2 separate regions of the Homo sapiens genome follow, and region 1 is linked to region 2. Evidence: promoter capture Hi-C in human tissues and cell types (Jung and others, 2019). All regions are on one chromosome and are shown on one strand. The core of a region is centred on a gene start or on the middle of the fragment in contact, and the rest is flanking DNA. Distances in the headings are between cores, read along the strand shown. Region 1 overlaps ZNF445 (zinc finger protein 445). Region 2 holds the start of ZNF852 (zinc finger protein 852).

Evidence for each region. Contacts are between HindIII fragments. The study calls those that stand out against the background at their distance.
Region 1: a contact is called between a fragment that was not itself captured here and the fragment with the promoter of ZNF852 in region 2, in 1 of the 25 tissues and cell types used here (pancreas).

What each region holds. Positions count from the first base shown.
Region 1 is chr3:44,466,154-44,471,700 of GRCh38, reverse strand. The region is part of intron 1 of ZNF445 (zinc finger protein 445); the gene reads left to right. Among named protein-coding and RNA genes, the nearest start is that of ZNF445, 8.7 kb to the left of the region's middle. The HindIII fragment of the contact is 4,733 bases long and covers 1-4,415 here.
Region 2 is chr3:44,509,214-44,515,313 of GRCh38, reverse strand. It overlaps ZNF852 (zinc finger protein 852), which reads left to right and starts at 4,697. Exons shown (of 4, transcript NM_001423469.1): 1 at 4,697-4,761. RefSeq lists enhancers at 4,243-4,302, 3,761-4,537, 4,538-5,314 and silencers at 4,523-4,572, 4,703-4,762, 4,773-4,932. The HindIII fragment of the contact is 21,843 bases long and covers 1-6,100 here.

The DNA.
Region 1 (5,547 bases), core at 800-3,299, 41 kb after region 2:
CTGGATGATTGCATGCCTTCTAGTGTGAGTCTTCTTTACATCTTAGTTTACTGTCATTTCTTTTGACAGTATTAGCAGCACTTGCTGAGAGCAGAGGACATTGGATAGGTATTAGTTCAGAGCAAATGTAGAAGGTGGTGGCTCTTTTAATTTCATAAGTGTCACTCCTTTTACATTTGCTTCACAGTGGTGGGAGATGGAAGGGGTCAGCATTTTCAGGGGATATGACCTTCATCTGTGACTTTGTGCACAGGGTAGTGGGGCCACTTTGCAACAAGTTCTGAGACCTGTTGTCCATCTCACACTTTTTGTAGACACTCCAGTTCTTCTCTCATGAGTCTTTAGTTTGTCAGTTCAGTGGCTATTTATGGGCATATTTGGATCCTGGAGTAGATTGATGGCTGTTACTGATGGATCTTTTCCACCAATAATGTCTGGGTACTTTTACTTCTAGATAAAGAAGCTTTTAGGGACAAGAAGATACTGATGAGATTGCTCTCTAGACTGAACCAAGAGTCATATTAGAGAAATTCTGGATGCAGGTGATCTGTACAGAGTCAGCTGATCCTGTGTCTGTGGAACATTAATGGCAGCACTGCTTGTATTTCTCTTTTTCTTCAACTTTTATTTTTTTTCTTCCATTGTTGCTGGCTACTCCTTTTCTTTGTTTCTGTTTTCTTTCTGGATAGGTTTTTTATTTTTGTTTTGCATGTTGTGTTTTGGTAGCATTTTGCTCTTCTTGTTCTCTACCTCACTTGCCTGTTTTTTTTTCTCCTTACATCTGTTCAACTGGAGAACATCCTTTTGTAGTTGCTTGAGCTGAAGCCATGGTTTGTACTCAAGTCCCCCCTCAAGAATGTGCTGTCCCTTCTACTGTGCATCTGCCATCTTCAATCCTACGAGTTGCTACTCAATTGCTTTGCTTCTTAAGAGAATTATTGATCACTTTGCTGTTTATAAATGTAATGGGTAACAATTTAGGCAACATAGGCAAATAAGGAAGGAGAGCCCTTTCATCCCACCTCCCAGAGGAAATCATGGCTAAAAATACTTTGGTAGTGAGGCTTAGGAGCTTTTATGTGCATATGTAAACTGCTTTGCTTTTCATTTGCTTTAAGACATAAATGACAGTATAACTATGCTTTCTAATAATTGCTTTTCAATTTTCTTTTCTTTTAGGAAATAGAAGACAAAAAAAATATAAAGTTGCTTTTAAATGCAATTCTCTACCTTCCTACCCCCACCACCAGTAAGAGTTTTTGTGAATCCTTCCAGGCTTTTAAAATTTCTTTGAGTAGTTATAGGTACATTCACATACATGCGTATACAGTCACACACACACACGGTTGTACGTTTTGTTTTCACAATTCGTATTTAGGATGTGCTTTCAAACTTAGCACATATTTTTGTTATTGTTGGGAAAAGCAGTCGTGCACAGTTTCTCTCTCCTTACTTGGCTGTGTAGGAGTGTCCTTGGACGCCAGGCATTGTGGCTCATGCCTGTAATCCCAGTGCTTTGGGAGGCCAAGTCAGGAGGCTCTCTTGAAGCCAGGAGTTTGAGACTGGCCTGGGCAACATAGTGAGACCCTATCGCTAAAAAAAAGTCAGGCAGAGTGAGGGTGGCACATGTCTGTAGTCTCAGCTATTCAGGAGGTTGAGGTGGGAGGATCACTTGAACCCAGGAGTTTGAGGCTGCAGTGAGCTGTGATCGTGCTACTGCACTCCAGCCTGGATGACAGAGTGAGAAAAAAGAGTGGCCTCGGGCCTGAGACATTTCCTTACAAGAGCGAAAGAGTCCTCACAACCTTTGCTGGGTTTAACATCTTGTGACTGTAGGTGTCACATCTTGTGAGGGACTATCTTGTTTTTCTGCACTTGATGTACTCCTTTGTTTTGTTTGTTTTGTTTTGTTTTGTTTTTGTTTTTGTTTTTGAGATGGAGTTTTGCTTTGTCACCCAGGCTGGAGTGCAGTGGCACGATCTTGGCTCACTGCAACCTCTGCCTCCTGGGTTCAAGTGGTTCTCCTGCCTCAGCCTCCTGAGTAGCTGGGATTACAGCTGTACGTCTCCACGCCTGGCTAATTTTTGTATTTTTAATAGAGATGGGGTTTCGCCATGTTTGCCAGGCTGTTCTCAAACTCCTGACCTCAGGTAATGTGCCAGCCTTAGCCTCCCAAAGTGCTGGGATTACAGGTGCAAGCCACCATGCCAGGCCTCCTTTGTTCTGTTTCTGAGTGCATGAATCAGCAGCCGTCATGCATGTTCCTATCTTTCTTCATTTCAGACCCCACAGAGGAGGGGTTAAGGTCTTTCTACTGCAATATGAAGCGTGTATACACACACCACCTGTGTAGACTGTGGAGTGGTTCTGCTGGCCACGAGGGACCAACACATTGCAAGTGGCTGGATCTTGTGAACCCTCCATCTCCATAAGTAAACATTGTACCTCTTGAGCTTGGTGGGGGTGGTGTCTTTTCTCAGTGACCTCAAGTCATACACTGTCTCTTCCTTGGGTGACACCTAGTTGCCTTGTAACTTTGGCTACAGAGCCTTATCACCTGGTGTACAGTAAAGCAGTTATGTTGATGTATAACAATTCTAGTACATTCCTTTTAGGTGTGTGAGTATTTCATCCTATAAAATGCTTTTTTTTTTTTTTTTTGAGACAGACTCTCACTATCCTCCCAAAATACTGGAATTACAGGCATGAGTCACTGCACCTGGCCAAATGCTACACTTTTATAACCTCCCAAGAGGTTCACCTTGCCTGCTGCCTAGACAGAGCTGATTCAAGATGGGAATTGCAATAGAGAAAGAGTAATTCACGCAGAGCCGGCTGTGTGGGAGACTGGGGTTTTATTATTACTCAAAGCAGTCTCCCCCAGCATTTGCGGAGCAAAGTTTTTAAGGATAACTTGGTGGGTTGGGGGAAGCCAGTGAGCCAGGAGTGCTGATTGGTCAGAGATGAAATCATAGCGAGTCACAGCTGTCGTCTTGTGCTGAGTCAGCTCCTCGGGGGGAGGGGGTGGAGGGGTGGGGGCGGGCCACAAGATCAGATGAGCCAGTTTATTGATCTGGGTTGTGCCAGCTAATCCATCAAGTGCAGGGGCTGCAAAATACCTCAAGCACTGATCTTAGGAGCAGTTTAGGGAGGGTCAGAATCTTGTAACCTCCAGCTGCATGACTCCTAAACCATAATTTCTAATCTTGTGGCTAATGTTAGTCCCGCAAAGGCAATCTAGTCTCCAGGCAAGAAGGAGATCTGCTTTGGGAAAGATCTGTTACTGTCTTTATTTAAACTATAAACTGTAAGTTTCTCCCAAAGTTAGTTCAGCCTGTGCCCAGGAATGAACAAGGACAGCTTGGAGGTTAGAAGCAAGATGGAGTTAGTTAAGTTAGATCTCTTTCACTGTCTCAGTCATAATTTTGCAATGACAGTTTCAGTCCCTCCCTTTGGATTTTATAACACCTTAATAAGGTGTAAGTTATGAAGGTGGGAAAAGGCTGTTGATTGCTCTGGCTTCTTCCTCCTGACAGGGGACATAGTGGGAATGGGAGTGAACCCCAGCGTGAGAAGAGTGGAACTGCTTTGCAACTGTCTGAGTGTACTCACGCAGGCTTGGCCAGGCGTTCATGGCTTGCATGGCTAGAACATTAGTATTTTCATCTGTAATTTTACTGCAGTATTTAAGTGAAACAGCCTACTATAAGGTAAATAATGAGTCCTAGGATGAGGAGTACAATTCCCAATTTTAAAAGCAAAGATTTGAAAGTATTAGTTTGGGGACTTCTAACCCACAAAGAATTTAGAATTTTGTTTAAACTGCAGAAAAAAACCCTCAAGAACAGCTACAATATTGTACTATAGTTTTTCTTTTGAAGCATAATTTTCTCTCTCCAATCCCCATTTTTATTAAAAACAAATCATGATAGGACTGATTTGTTTACAAAATAAACTTTAGCCTTACTGTGCTTGGCCTGATTATTTGCATAAAGTGCAGCAAGAATAATTATTTTTCACTTAGGCTTTTTAAGTTGGTTTTGATAGAACTCTGTTCCATGAAGAATCTCAGATAAGACTTTTTAAAAGCTGAGCCCAGCTGTGGATTTGTACTCTCAAATACCTATGAGTTGGGCAAATTTCTCTCCTCTTGAGGTCCCAAGATAACTTGGGGTTCCTGGGCCTGTTAGCAAGTGACATTCTTTACTTACCACGGGTTGTCAGGAAGCTTGTACAGAGACTCTGTGTGGACAAGGTATGAGGCCAGATTCCCCAACAGGCTTTAATTGGCTCTATAAGTCAACTTTGATTCTTTAAAGGAAGCATGATTTCTCCAGCTGTGTCCTGTTACAAAAGAAAACAGATTCTTATTGCACTAAAGCAATGAACTATACTGCCATAAATTGAGAATATTCACATATAGTTTCCAAATTCTGGATAAATCAGGTAGAAAGGAACAAATATGCTCCAAATTTTGTTCACAGGATTATATTTTACTTGTTAAAAGTTGCAAATAGCTCTAAAGAAATAAGTTCTCTTAACTCTGAAAACAAAACGTTTAGCAATGTTTAACACATTAGCTTTCCGTGAGAGTCCTAGAAGCTTGTTTTATTCTCTATTCCAATAGCACAATTTTTAAAGTTATCTGAGACTGGCACTTAGAGTCCTATATCTGATTATAAACTGCCTTTTGAAAAGGACCAAAGCAAGACAAAATACCTGTGGATGACAAAAATGTATAGCCACTATGAAAGCTACAATTGACTAGGAATTTTGGTTACTTCTGTGGCATACAGCAATTTTACATAACAATTATAATAATGTACACTAAATTATGTCAACATTATAGAAGTTTCCCATAATTTTGGAACACATACTGATAACATATTTAAACAAATACAGTCCAAAGTAAACCAAACACCATTCATCTATTTGAAAGTGTTTATTCTAATGTTACAATCTCCAGAGTTAATTAATCAGAATCCTGCATTTAAGAGCACCTGTTAAATTTTATACCTGCTTATAAAACCATCTTTTAAAGAGGACCAAAATGAGACAATTGTCCGTGGATGACAAAAGCATTTTAGGGCAGCCACAGTTAAAGACACGATTGACAAGGAAATTTGCCACCTCCATGGCATACAGTGTGTTAACATAATTATAATTATTACTGATAACATATACTGAGTCATATTAGAATTATAAGGGTTTTACATAATTTCATAACATATACTAATAACACATTTACACAAATGTAGACCAAAGAAAGCCAAACACCATTTCATATTTGACAATGCTTCCTGTATGATTTTTGCACCAAATAAGCCAAATGTCATTTTTGGACTTTAGAGGACCTAATATCTAAAATATTAGGTTAGAAAGAGACATAATTTATAATTTGATTTTGGAAAGTTTGTCAAGTAGCAAAGGTTTAAAACACTGGATATCACAAAATAGAATCCCAGGTCACCATAAATCATTCTTTGGCCAAAATGATAACTCCAAAAAAAATTTTTTTTAAAAAAGAAAAACCTTTACTCTGATAGA
Region 2 (6,100 bases), core at 3,448-5,947:
TGAGACAAGAGGAACCCTTGAGCCCAGGAGTTTGAGGCTGCAGTGAGCTGTGATCATGCCACAGCCTCAGCAACAGAGTGAGATCCTATCTCAATTAAAAAAAAAAATCTTCTCACACCTGTAATCCCAGCACTTTGGGAGGCCAAGGTGGGAGGATGACTTGAGCCCAGGAGTTCGAGAGCAGCCTGGGCAATATGAAGAGATCCCATTCCTACAAAAATTTTGCAAATTAGGCATGTGTGGTGGTGTACACTTGCGGCCCTGGCTACTCCAAAGGCTGAGATGGAAGGATTGCTTGAGCTAGGGAAGGTGAGGCTGAAGTGAACTATGATTGCGCCACTGCACTCTAGCCTGGGTGACAGAGCAAGATCCTGTCTTAAAAAAAAAAAAGTCATAAGGAAGAGAAAATATATTTACTATTTATTAAGGGGAAGTGGATCATCATATAAGCCTTCATCCTCACTGTCTTCACATTGAGTAGGTTGAGGAGGAAGATAAAGAGTAGGGGCTGGTCTTGCTGTCTCAGAGGTGGCAGAGGCAGAAGAAAATTCATGTATAAGTTGACCCAGGCCATTCAAATCCATGTTGTTCAAGGGTCAACTGTATTTGAAAAACACAATGTCATTCCTCCATGGGTTATAAAGGTCACGTTAGCCCCGGTACTCCATCCAGACCACCATTCCACCTGAATTTACAACCTTCCTTCTTGGGAGGATCCTAATGTCAGTCTTTATGCACTCACTACTCCTCATGTCAGGAATTACACCCATGTTTGCCAGTCACGAAACCTGCATGTTGGTCATGGCCAAGGCTGGAAGGCCTGATGAATTGTAACATTTCCTCCAGATCCCAGACAAACCTCAGATGGGTTGCCCCAGACCTCATCACTGACCCATATCCTTCACATGATGGCAGCAGATACTATGCGCACACTTCACAGGAGTCCCTCGTTTACACCAGTCATGGTGTTCAGCAGGGAGATGCCTCACCCCTGTGACTACCCAGCCATTTGATTTCTGTCTATTGTCTGCAGTCTGTCTCCTGATTTGGAAGGAACAGTTGAGGCATTCTGACTCTGTATTTAACTGTTCTCTGCCACCGTCCGCTGATTGATGACTATACATAAAGTGTCAACTGGATACTCAATGGTACACATCTTCCTACTAACAACTCCCCTAGTGCTTTCATCTTGCCTTTTATAAGTCTGCATCCAACTTGTTACACTCTAACACCCCAACAGAACAACTATGGTTTCTGTATCTCCCTGCTTCTCTGCACCCACTTCCTCCACTAACATCCTAGCGGCCAGGCCATACAAGACAAACTATTTTCTGCTGGTCTTGACATTAAGGTAACCAGAGCCAGGCCATGTGGGAGATCATAAGCACAGGACACATCCAGCTCTCCTTTTAGCAAGCAACCCATTCATCTCCAACCCACTCAGAGAACAATGACATAGGCTTGTTGAGAATAAAAGAGGCCCTTAACCCCATGGCCCTCTGACACCAGCTGTCCCCACCTTGTCAATCCACCTCATCTTTCTGACAGCAAGGCCAATCCTGAATCGTTCATATGGTCCAGCAACTAAAGGGTTAATTGGGTGATTGGGGGAGGGGCTAAAGGAGCTGTTTTTCCACCTTGTCTCCTTCTACCTATGAGGAGGGGCTGCAGGAAGGGAAAGAAATTGACCTCCTCAACGACTTCCTTCCAGTTCACAGACAGAACTGTTTCAGTTCTGTTACCTAGGTCTCTTTTCTTCTCAGGGATGATATTTAAAAGATTAACAACCAGTGGCTGGGCGCCATGGCTCACTCCTGTAATCCCAGCACTTTGGGAGTCCTAGGCAGGTGGATCACCTGAGGTCAAGAGTTCAAGACCAGCCTGGGCAACATGGCAAAACCCCATCTCTACCAAAAAAAAAAAAAAAAAACTTATCCGGGTGTGGTGGTGTGCGCCTGTAGTCCCAGCTACTCAGGAGGCTGAGGTGGGATGATGGCCTGAGCCCAGCAGGTGGAGGTTGCAGTGAGCTGAGATCCTACCACTCACTGCACTCCTGCCTGGGCGATAGAGCCAGACTTTGTCTCAAAAATAAATAAATAAGCCGGGCACAGTGGCTCATCTTGTAATCCCAGCACTTCGGGAGGCAGAGGCAGGCGGATCACCTGAGGTCAGGAGTTCAACACAAGCCTGGTCAAGATGGTGAAACCCCATCTCTACTAAAAATACAAAAATTAGCCAGGCATGGTGGCACATGCCTGTAATCCCTGCTACTCAGGAGGCTGAGGCAGGAGAATCGCTTGAACCCGGGAGGCGGAGGCTGCAGTGAGCCAAGATCGCGCCACTGCACTACAGCCTGGGTGACAGAGTGAGACTCCATCTCAAAATAAATAAATAAATAAATAATTATAAATAAGGCTGGGCGCTGTGGCTCACACCTGTAATCCTAGCACTTGTGGGAGGCCGAGGTGGGCAGATCACCTGAGGTCAGGAGTTCGAGATCAGCCTGGCAGACATGACAAATCCTGGCTCTACTAAAAATGCAAAAATTAGCTGGGGATGGTGGCCTGTGTCTGTGGTCCCAATTACTGGGTGGCTGAGGCAGGAGAATCACTTGAACCCAGGAGGGGAGGCGGAGGTTGCAGTGAGCCGAGATCACACCACTGCCCTCCAGCCTGGGTGACAGAGGGAGGCTCCGTCTCAAAATAAATAAATAAATAAATGAAGGAATTCCTAATGCTAAATGCCACATAATCAAACTGAAATTTTATAGAAGTATGTGAATCCCCTAACAGACCAGTTTTTCCTGCAAACAGGAGATTCATAGCAACCATTCAGAAAGGGCCCAGTTAACCCCAGTCAGCATAAGGAAGGCCCCCTCTGCTTTAATCCTTAAAAGAAAAGTAACCTGATGTTAATCAATCTATTTTTGCTATTGTTTGGTTCTCTTGTTCCCACCTTTAAAAACCCACTGTTCTGCCACATGCTGTTAGTCTACTTTATAGAAGTTTTTACTATTTTGTACCTGCTTCTCCAACTCATAATGTTACACAGCCTCTCCAGGTTGTAGCCCAAGAAGCAGCCTGCTCTTTCTCGTTCTCTCTCTTTCTTCCTTCTCTCTTTCATTCCTTTTCTCTCTTTCTCACTTCCCTCCCTCCCTTCCTCCCTTCCTTCCTTGGGTCTCGCTCTGTCGCCCAAGCTGGAGTACACTGCCCCAATCATAGCTCACTGCAGCCTCGACCTCCCCGGCCCAAGCGATCCTTCCGCCTCTGCCTCCACAGTAGCTAGGACTACAGGCGTGCACCACCAAGCTCAGCTAATGCTCTTTCTGGTCTGAGTTTTGACCCTCATCCTAACCTGTTGTTCTTTGAGTACACTCTGGGCCTTGATGCGTTGGGTCATTCCTGCTTTCCCAGGTGGTAACCGTTCCTGGGCAGGGATTTTAGTTTTCCTTGGAATCTTGCCCTCCTCACTATCCTGCCCACAACCTTCTACCCCTAGCTTCTGGGATCTCAGCTAGGAGCCATGCTATCCCCAACTCTCCCTCTACAGGGACGTGGGACGGGAGAGCTTTTATGAAGCACAGTAGTGAAAAGACCAAAAGATTTGGATTCAGTGGCTATTCCAGTTACTGACTCTATTTCCTTGGGCAACTCAAATCAATGCATGGCAGCCAGTGTGTTATGAGCTACCGGAAGTATACAGAAAAGTACCAGAAAAAATACAAGCATTATCATCAGTCGCTGTCAATTAAATAACTCTGTTACATTTCAACAGTGTTCGTAACCACTTGACATTGATGTATTTGTGTAATTTCTATTATCTGTTTTTCCCACAAAGCTGTAGCTCCATCCAAAGTGGGCAACTGAGTGTCTTGGTCAGTCATGTGCAGCCTGATGACCCTTGAACAGTTGCAAAAGTGCGCCTAGGGCTTGTAGCATTTACTTAAAAGGGGATAATAAACTCTCACGGCCAGTGCTGGGCTTATTGCCTTGTTTGGGAATTTCTCCATTCAAGGGTTTTATGTTTGGGGATGTGCTGGCCCTATTTTTTTGTTTGTTTGTTTTTTGAGACGGAGTCTGGCTCTGTCTCCCAGGCTGGAGTGCAGTGGCACGATCTCGGCTCACTGCAACCTCCGCCTCCCAGGTTCAAACGATTCTCCTGCCTCAGCCGCCGAAGTAGCTGCGATTACAGGCGCCGCGCCACCACACCCAGCTACTTTTTTTTTATTTTTAGTAGACACGGGGTTTCACCGTGTTAGCCACCGATCTCCTGACCTCGTGATCCGCCCACCTCGGCTTCCCAAAGTTCTGGGATTACAGGCGTGAGCCACCGCGCCAGGCCGCTGGCTCTATTTTCACCGCTAGCTTTGGATCCCTTTCTTCCCTGAAGGAAAAGAGGCCTCCAGGGCAGCCGTGCAGAACCGATGGGAGGGATGTAGGATAATACGCCAAAGCCGATAGAGTTCTGGAGCGCGCCTGGGCATCAGAGCGTGGAAGACAAGTGTCCGCGGAAGGAGGCGAAGGATGCTGGACAAGCCCCGCCGCCCGCCGCCCGCCGCCCGCCGCCCGCCGCCCGCCGCCCGCCGCCAGCGGCCCTGGGCCCAGGGAGAAGCAGAGATGTTGGCCCTCCCAGTTTCCTAGAGAGGCCGCAGAGGGCCCGGGGAGGCGACGCGCGTGCGCAACTGGGGAAGCTGGGAGGTAGGCGCGGGGCGGTCGGCTGCGGTGGCGGCGTTTGGATGATTGTCTCTCGGCGGCGGAGTCGGTGAGCGGCCCGGCGGGGCGCGGGGTGCGGAGCGGGGGCGGCTGTGCGTGCGAGAGTGGCAGGTGAGGCCGGGCCTGGAGGCTGCACCCGGGGCGGGGGTCTGGCCGTGGATCCCGCCCGGCCGCGCCGAGGGCATACCTCTTCGCCCCCCGGGCGTCTGGGGCAGAGAATCTGGAAAATTCCCGGTTTCTTCTGGCTTTATCTTTTCACCCAATTATGCGAATAAAGCGTACTTATTAGAGACAATTAGATAAGTGGAAGAAAAGTGAAAGTAGCCACCGTCCGGAAATCTTAGTCTCCAGGTCTCCTGACATTGAAAACATCTGGCATAGACTTCTCCCTTTTTCTTGTCTTATTTCACTTCCTGGCACCTGTCGCCGTCTAACATAGCATGTATTTGTTTATTGGTTATCTTCCCATAAGCCCCTTGCCAGGGCAGTGCTTTCTGTTTGCTTTATTAACTGCTGTTACCTTAGTGTATGGGAAATAGTAGGTGCTCCTAGAAGGTGTTTGTTAAATTAATGAAAGAAGGAATATCTAAACTGGGAGACAAGAAGAATTGACAGTTTTTAATGTCTTTTTTTTTTTTTTAAATAGCCCATTGCCAAGTTAAGAATGTAAGAGTGACCTTGAGCCTGGAACATTTCCTTGCAGAGTTAGAGCCCTCACAGCCTGTGCTGCTGCATTTAATGCCTTGTGTCTTTCAGTGTTTCAGGCTTCATGTGTACTCCTTTGTTGTGTTTAATCTCTTAAGTCAGTGGCCTTCATTCATTCTCTCAGCCTTCTGTATTTCACACCCCATAGGAGTGGGGAGGGTGGATTGAGATCTTTCTTCCTTACTAAGTGGGGTGTGTGCATCACACCAGCCCTATAGCTGTGGAGTGGATCTGCTGGGTGTGGGGGCTCTTTGCATTGCAGGAGGCTGGATCTTGTTCCCTGTTTCTCCTTTTGCTGTAAGTATACGCTGTACCTCTTGGGGCCTGATGTGGTTGGTATCTGTCCTCAGCGACCTCAAATCATGTGCTATCCCTTCCTTGGATGGCCTTTTAATCTTGGCAGCACAGCCTGGCCACCTGGTGAATAGTGGAACAGTCATGGTGATGCATAAGGATCTAGTATGTTCCTTTTAGGTGCTGTATGGTATTTCATCCTATAAAAATGCTACTTTTATTTAGCCATATTGATGGACAAGTAGGTTAAATCCAGTATTATGTTATTACAGAGAATATTTTAGTAAATACCTGTGTAAATGTCTGAATACCCGTGCAAGTGTTTTTCAGGGCAGATTCTTACAAGTTAAATTCCTGTAGCGTAAGGAATATGTCTTTTTAGTTTTACT